Linked DNA regions of Homo sapiens: region 2 is linked to region 1. Evidence: promoter capture Hi-C in 16 types of primary human blood cells and fetal thymus (Javierre and others, 2016). All regions are on one chromosome and are shown on one strand. Each heading gives the region's core, a stretch centred on a gene start or on the middle of the fragment in contact. The rest is flanking DNA. Distances are from core to core; before and after follow the strand shown. Region 1 holds the start of WDR31 (WD repeat domain 31). Region 2 overlaps RGS3 (regulator of G protein signaling 3).

What was found. The method cuts DNA at HindIII sites, captures the fragments that hold promoters and counts their contacts. A CHiCAGO score of 5 or more calls a contact.
Region 2: a fragment that was not itself captured here is called in contact with the fragment with the promoter of WDR31 in region 1 in 1 of 17 cell types (erythroblasts); the score reaches 6.0 in erythroblasts.

Annotation. Positions count from the first base shown.
Region 1 is chr9:113,337,825-113,341,997 of GRCh38, reverse strand. WDR31 (WD repeat domain 31) reads left to right here and starts at 1,723. Exons shown (of 11, transcript NM_001012361.4): 1 at 1,723-1,781. RefSeq lists a silencer at 1,714-1,953. The HindIII fragment of the contact is 2,200 bases long and covers 1-1,960 here.
Region 2 is chr9:113,553,226-113,557,398 of GRCh38, reverse strand. All of the region lies in intron 17 of RGS3 (regulator of G protein signaling 3), which reads right to left. Among named protein-coding and RNA genes, the nearest start is that of RGS3, 92 kb to the right of the region's middle. The HindIII fragment of the contact is 2,685 bases long and covers 664-3,348 here.

The DNA of each region.
Region 1 (4,173 bases), core at 474-2,973:
ACAAATGACTCCTAGATCCTTGGCTTGGGTGATTGGTGAATGGTAGTGCCCAGCACTTACAGGGAAAAGAGGGGGAACAGGTTTGAGGGGAAGATGATGTTTCCAGTATGAGTCATGTCAAGAATGAGGTGTCTTTTAAACTGCCAGTTGCAGATGGGCGGGTGGCAGGTGGATATACAGGTCCGACTCAGGGAGAGGCCTGGCTACAGGTACCAGTTTGGGAGTCTTTCGTGCCTGAAGCCTAAAGCCTCTCTCTCAGAGGGAAAAACATCCCCAGAGCAGGAACATCTTGGGTGCAGAGATCTAGTAACTCACCTCTGTAGCTGCACTGAGCCTAGCCCAGTGTCCCAGGACAAAGCAGTGAGTCTATCCTGGTTGTAGCTTGCCAGGCTGTTGTGGGGGAAAGGGATTAAGTCTGTAAGGAGAGCCATTGGTTCTGAGCGAAGATCAGAGTTTCAAGTGGCATACGGGTAGATACTTTCTCCTGCCAGAAGGAAATCTCCCAACAATAGGTCACTAGCTTAGAAAGTAATCAGCCCATCATTACAGAGTGAGCATCAACTAGGGCTACAGATACTTCATCAGGGATGCCATGGAGGGGATCCCTTCCCTGGACTGGAAAACAGACCCAATAGCCAGTATGTGGAGGCAAACTTCTCTCACCATTCCCACCCCCTCAAAGGCACCCAATTTTCAGAAACTCCACAAATCTTCATTGAAGGCTGTTTTGCCAGATCAACACTGCAGAGGCACCTACTAGGGTTCAAAATAAATGTTGGGGCCGGGCGCGGAGGCTCATGCCTGTAATCCCAGCACTTTTGGAGGCTGTGGCAGGTGGATCACCTGAGATCAGGAGTTCGAGACCAGCCTGGCCAACATGATGAAACCCCATCTCTACTAAAAATACAAGAATTAGCCGGGCATGGAGGCGCGCACTTGTAGTCCCAGCTACTTGGGAGGCTGAGGCAGGAGAATCGCTTGAACCTGGGAGGCAGAGGTTGCAGTGAGCCGAGATCGCGCGACTGCACTTCAGCCTGGACGACAGAGCAAGACTCCGTCTTAAAAATAAATAAATGTTGGCTAGGATCCCTGCCATTGATTCATTCAACAAACATTCAACAAGCCCCTACTATATACCAAGCCCCATACTGTGCACCAGGAATACGGAGATGAATAGACTCTAGTCTGGTAGCAATGCGACCGCAGCTGTAAAAACTGTGTTTCTACAACTGTCTTCCCATTTGGATCTCAAGAAGGTACTGAGGGGTCTCTTCTTGCTATGGTACTAGGCTGTAATGGTTCAATGAAAAAAAAAAAACGAAAGGAATAGAGGAGTGGGGAGCTGGGGGAGTGTCCAAAGGAGGAATTTCTAGTCGAAATCAGGGAAACTCCAAAGAAATACGGCAACACGTATGTCTGAGCGACCAATAATTTAAAAGATGACCTTTATTAAGTGCTTTCTCCATAGCTATTACAAAGGTACCCGTTTTGCTTGGATTGTCTAGATTCTTCTGGCAGCGGAGTCCTGGGCACAAGCGTCCTCTCCTCTGGACCTGATCACGAAGAGAGTAGCGCCGGGCGCTCAGTTCCCGTCCCAGCTTTAGGCGAACGGAACTGCGGTTCGGCGGCCTGCGAGGGTGCCCGGAGGCTTTTCTCCAGCACTCCCGCCCTAGCAACGTGCGCCTGCTGCTAGGGGCGGAGGCGCGGGAGGGCTCGGAGGCTGTTCCCACCCCCAGGCTCCGCGTTCCCGCCGGCCCCAGCTCCAGCCCCGCAGCCCACCGGTGGGTACTGAGCCTGAGGTGGGAGAAAGGGGCATAGCGGCAGACTAGGAGCGGGCAACCCTCGCCCTTTGGTCGAAGCGGAGAGCGGTTATGAGGGCCAACCTTGGGCTGGGTGGCGCTAGGTTCCCATCTTCGGGGACTCTTCTCCCCGCTTTCCACATACACATAAAAAATAAGCTTTAGGCCGGGCGCGGTGGCTCACGCCTGGAATCCTAGCACTGTGGGAGGCCGAGGCGGGTGGATTGCCTGAGCTCAGGAGTTCGAGACCATCCTGGGCAACACAGTGAAACCCTGTCTCTACTAAAATACAAAAAATTAGCCGGGAGTGGTGCCGTGCGCCTGTAGCTACTTGGGAAGCTGAAGCAGGAGAACTGCTAGAACCCGGGAGGCGGAGGTTGCAGTGAGCCGAGATCGCGCCACTGCACTCCAGCCTGGGTGACAGAGCGAGACTCGAGACTCCGTCTCTTGAAAACAAAAACAAAAACAAATTAAGCTTTAGTTGTTCATATAATGGGCAGGGAGAGGAGCATTTGCCATCTGAAGCGACAGAAAGGAAAAACTGCACACAAGTCGTCCCCAAAATTTGAGGCAACCGTGAGAGTGGTGGCCTAGAACTGGCTCCCTGTGTGACTCTAGGCAAGACCCTCTTATTCCCTGGGCCTCGGTTTCCCCTATCTGTACCATTAGAGGGTCGAACCAGACCAGCTTCCAGGTGTTTCTACTCATACTTTTCTTTCTTTGAGCATTGTTTTGGCGACTAAAGATGCCTTGGTCTCCCAGAGTGTAAGACAGAAGTGTGCAGAGGGAGATTTGGGGAGACGGAGGGAGATAAGATATCAGCATTTGCATTAACGGGACCAGGGAAATAAGGTCCAGTCCACCCGGCTCTGCCCCTGTGACCTTCAGCAAGTCACAGCCCTCTGAGTCCCAGTTTCTTCATGGAATAGAACAGTCGGATAGGTACTGGTGTATATCAAGGAATATTGCACTGGAGAGTTAAAAGAGAATTCTCTGCTTTCTGTTTAGGGTGGTTTAGAGTGACTACTGGATATCCCAAGGCCTTTGGAAAGCAGATTGGAATAGAAAGAAGTGATGGGATTCAGACCGAGGCCTGGTTCCAACTGGAACCAACAGGGACATCCAGAGCCATAACTGAATCTGTAGATTTTCCCATGTCCTCTCCAGCCTTTCTGGGTCTGGAGCCTGGGATGAAACAGGGTGACTGCTCTCTAAGGGATATGTTGTTGGGCAGGTTAAAAGGGCGCTTATGTTGTTGGGTCCCTAAAAAGTGTACCACTGGGCCGGGCACGGTGGCTCACACCTGTAATCCCAGCATTTTGGGAGGCCAAGGTGGGCGGATCAACTGAGATCGGGAGTTCGAGACCAGCCTGACTAATATGGAGAAATCCTGTCTCTACTAAAAACACAAAATTAGCTGGGCGTGGTGGCAGGCGCCTGTAATCCCAGCTACTCAGGAAGCTGAGGCTGGAGAATCGCTTGAACCTGGGAGGTGGAGGTTGTGATGAGCTGAGATGGTGCCATTGCACTCCAGCCTGGGCAACAAGAGAGAAACTCCATCTCAGAAAAAAAAAAAAAAAATAGCGTACCACCAAGCCGACTCTTCATCTTAGTATTCCATTCACTCATTCAACAGGTATTTATTTGCCTTGCGTTCATTCTCCTAGGCTAAGGTCAAATCATAGATACAAAAATGAACCAGAAATTATACCTCCTCTCAAGTATATTACATGTTCCTAATAAAAATAGTGGAAGATAACTTAGTAGTACTTTTATTTCTTATTCTACTCATGATAAATTACAACAACGTAGATATAACCCAAATTCATATACTTTGTTCTTGAGACTTTTTAATTGCCTTGCTATGTAACATAATGAATTCTTAGCTTTATTGGGTCCAATCACTCTGATCAGAGGCCATAATTTGCTTCAGCTTTAATATCCTCTAGATTCATATATCCGTTTGTATGTGTTCTCTGTGTATATTTGTGCATTAATATTTGTGCATTATGAACAGTATTAACAAGGGTGAAAATGCTGCTTCCAGTATGATCACTGTTAATCTTGCAATCATGCTAGTAACCATAATTTATTGTTAACAACTTGCCAGATTGAACCAAAAGCTTTATATGCACCAGCTTTTGTAGAGATGCAGTATAATATGCTGGTCAAGAACAGGGCCTCTGGAGTTGGACTGCCTGGATTCAAGTTTCAGCTCTGCCACTTATTTGCAGTATAAACTTGAGCAAACTATTTGATATCTCTGTGCCTCACTTTTCACATCTGCAAAATGGCCATACAGGTTGAGTATCCCTTATCTGAAATGTTTGGGACCAGAAGTGTTTCAAATTTCAGATTTTAGAATATTTGCATT
Region 2 (4,173 bases), core at 757-3,256, 220 kb before region 1:
GATCAGGCCCAGGGACTATTGATGAAATGATTGAGGGAGTCCAACTCCAAGGCCATGGCCATAACCCTGGCCCTTCTGGCAGCAGCACTGCTACCACTAAGGGAGTGAGCCAACACCTAAGTAAATAGAACCAAGAAATGAAGAGGCTGAGGCCTTCTCAGTGACATTGCTCAAGGCTCTGAATCCAACTAGGCCTGAAGGCTACCCTCCCTAACCCAGTAAATTCCATTTACTCCTGGAAGCTGGGTATTTGTCACTTGCAATTGGTAGATTGCTGACTAATGCATACTGCATCAACAGTACTTAGCACAGTGTTTGACACACATTAGGCACTGTAAACTTCTTTGCTCACTCATACAGTCATTCAACAAACACTCAGCAGTGTGAAGGTGACTGCGTGTGTTCTATAAGAAGAGTCATCGCAGCTGCTGTTGACAGAGGTGACTACATGGACAGGAGTAGGAAGAGGGAGACCCACAAGAAGCAATGCAGCAGTCCCAGGGACAAAGAGGAGGCCTGAAGCAGGTGGCTGAGACCAAGGGAAGAGGAGGGAGGGAAGAGTCCCAACTCTAAATTCACTGGAGAACCTCTGACAATCCCTGCCCCTCTCTGGCCTCAGTAGCCCAGTCTGTTTCAGATCCATCATCCTAGCATCCCCAAGCTTTCCCCCACTGATTACAGAGTCCCTGCCTGTCGACACTCAACATTGTCACTACAGAGTGCTGGGGGGAAGGGCAGGGTGGGCTCTGGGGTTGGGACCCGACAGGCAGGGAGTATAGTTTAGCAGCTAAGGACACGGGCTCTGGAGCCAGGTGCTTGGGATTAGAACCTGGCCTGCACCTCCTAATTATGCGACCTTGTATAATCTGCTCAATCTCTCTTTTCCTTTGTTTTCTCATCTATGAAATGAGGATAATAACAATAGTGCTGGGAAGATTATATATTATCACAGAAAGAAAGCACGCTTTAATGTTAGGCACCATTATTATTATTATTATTATTTGTAGTAGGAAGTCCAGAAAGAGGAGATTGAACACACAGAATAGAAACCATTCCTAAATTAATAGAAAATTTCCCTGAACGAAAGGAAGACTTGGGTCTTCAGACTGAAAGGACTTACCTAGTTAGGACCAGGAAAAATTACCAAAAGAAAACAAACAACTAGAAATCATCTGGGGAAATTTCTGAATTCCAAAGATTGGAAAGAGGAATCCTGGTTGTTTCCATAAATAAATTTTAGAGAATCAAGGAAAAACTGCTCTTAAAACACTAAATACTGGGGAAACCACAGAACACTGCTCTCAGGCTTCTGGGAGAGAAGGACGATTCACTTAGAATTTTCTACTCAAGCAAACTATGACTCAAACATGAGGGCAAATGTTTTCAGGCTTACAAGGATAAGAAAGGATACCACCCACAGACCCTTTCTGGAAAAATTACTCAAGAAAGCTCTACAGACAAAAGTGAATTAAAATCGAGAAGTCAAGAATGAGATGACGTGGTATGTGAGAGACAGAGGCAAGCCATGAAAACGGAAACATTTAGAGCCTTAACTACTGATAACTGAAAGTTAAGTGCAATTTTAAGTAAATAATTCTTAAAACAGAATAGTGCTAATGTTTAAAAATAGTCACAACCGGCCAGGGTGGCTCACGCCTGTAATCCCAGCACTTTGGGAGGCCAAGGCAGGCAGACCACGAGGTCAGGAGTTCGAGACCACCCTGACCAACAGGGTGAAACTCTGTCTCTACTAAAAATACAAAAATTAGCTGGGCGTGGTGGCGGGCGCCTGTAATCCCAACTACTCAGAAGGCTGAGGTAGGAGAATCGCTTGAACCTGGGAGATGGAGGTTGCAGGAGCCGAGATTGCACCACTACACTCCAGCCTGGGCGACAGAGCGAGACTCTGTCTTTAAAAAAAAAAAATAGTCACAACCGGAAACCGAAATTCCAGACAATTATAACAATACCTAGGAGGTATGGAGGAAAGCAGAGAAGTATGGTCCAGCCGACATGATCATTATGGGTTAGAGGCCACGAGGACAGGCTACTATGGATCTGGTGTCATTCCTGATGTTGAAATATGTTTGTGACAAAGGTAAGGGTAAAGCCACTAGCAGACTAGAATTAGGGTGTATAACTCCAAAGGAAATTTTGCAGAATAATAGGGGTTGGCCTTGGGATGTTTACTACTAAACCATATTCTGAAGCTAAAGTCATTAAGTCTAACCTGATGTAGGAATAGACAGATCAAAGAGGGAGATGAGAGAGCTTAGAAACCAAACCATCCATATGTGGAAATTTGGTCTATGATAAGTGAAGAAAGGAAAGACAATTCAAAAAAATCGGGTTGGAAAAACTGGTCAAACCATTTGGGGGAAAAAATTAATAAGAGTTCCATCTGACACCAGGCATTAAATTAATTGCAGATGAATTTAAAATGTAAATGCAAAAAATAAAAGAATAAAAGTAGCTGAATAAAATTTAGATGAATATTTCTCATAATCTAGGGGTAGGAAAGACCTTAGAAAATATAGGTGCTCTCAACCCCCCAAAAAAACTTGATTATAAAAAAAGTTAACTTCTAAATGATAAAAGATACTATAAAGTTAGAAGGCAAATGACAAACTAGAAAAATAATTATAACCCATATAATAAGCAAATGGTTAATAGTCTAACCACATAAAGAGCTCTTACAAATGAGATAACGCCTCAGTAAAAAACTGGGCAAATGACATGAATGAACTGACAAGCCAAAGCAGAAATATAGGTGACTGATCAACATAAAATGAGGCTGGACGCAGTGGCTCACGCCTGTAATCCCAGCACTTTGGGAGGCTGAGGTGAGTGGATCACTTGAGGTCAGAAGTTCAAGACCAGCCTGGCCAACATGGTGAAACCCCATCTCTACTAAAAATACAAAAATGTAGCTGGGTATGATGGCGTGTGCCTGTAGTCCCAGTTACTCAGGAGGCTGAGGCAGGAGAATAGCTTGAACTCAGAAGGTGGAGGTTGCAGTGAGCCAAGATGGCGCCACCGCACTCCAGCCTTGTGACAGAGCAAGACTCCATCTCCAAAAATAAAACAAAATGAATCTCAACCTCACTAATAATGAAATAAATGTCAATTAAGATTAAATATAATTTTTCACTTCTTGTACCAACAAAGAATTAAAAGCAATAACATTCCATTTTATGCAGGGTGTAGGGAAGCAGGCACTCTCATTCACTGTGAGTAGGAATGCAAATTGTACATGTACTTAACCTCTGTTCCTTTGGTTTCTCAACTATAAAATAGGATAAGAACAATAGTGTTGGGGAGATGACATGTGTAAACAGAAGGAAAGCTTTTTTAGAGCACTTCGGTAGTGTGTGCCACACTCTCTCCTAACAGAAAAGTGCGGCAAGATGTTTATTGCAACATTGTTCAGAATATCAAAACATTAGAAACAATCTAATCATGCATCAATAAATTAAATACATTATGGTCCACTGGCTATTCAAAATAGAGGGAGAAGTTTAGGTGCTGATGGAAAATATTTCTTTCTTTTTTTTGGAGACGGAGTTTCTCTCTTGTCGCCCAGGCTGGAGTGCAACGGCACAATCTCGGCTCATTGCAACCTCCGTCTCCAGGGTTCAAGTGATTCTCCTGCCTCAGGCTCCCCAGTAGCTGGGATTACAGGCACCCAGCACCACACCTGGCTAATTTTTGTATTTTTTAGTAGAGATGGGCTTTCGCCATGTTGGCCAGGCTGGTCTCGAACTCCTGACCTCAGGTGATCTGCCCACCTCGGCCTCCCAAAGTGCTGGGATTACAGGTGGGAGCCATAGCGCCCAGCCACGAAAATATTTCTATAATTATATAATATATATTTCTATAATATATTTATATATAATATTATATATACATATATATATATATATATATATATATATATATTTTTTTTTTTTTTTTTTTAAACAGAGTTTCCCTCTGTTGCCCAGGCTGGAGTGCAGTGGTGTGATCACAGCTCACTGCAGCCTTGGCCTCTCAGGCTCAAGCGATCCTCCCACCTCAGCTTCCCAAGTAGCTGGGACTCCAGGCACATGCCACCATGCCTGGATAATTTTTTTTATTTTTTGTAGCGATGGGGTCTCACTATATTGCCTAGGCTTGTCTTCAACTCCTGGACTC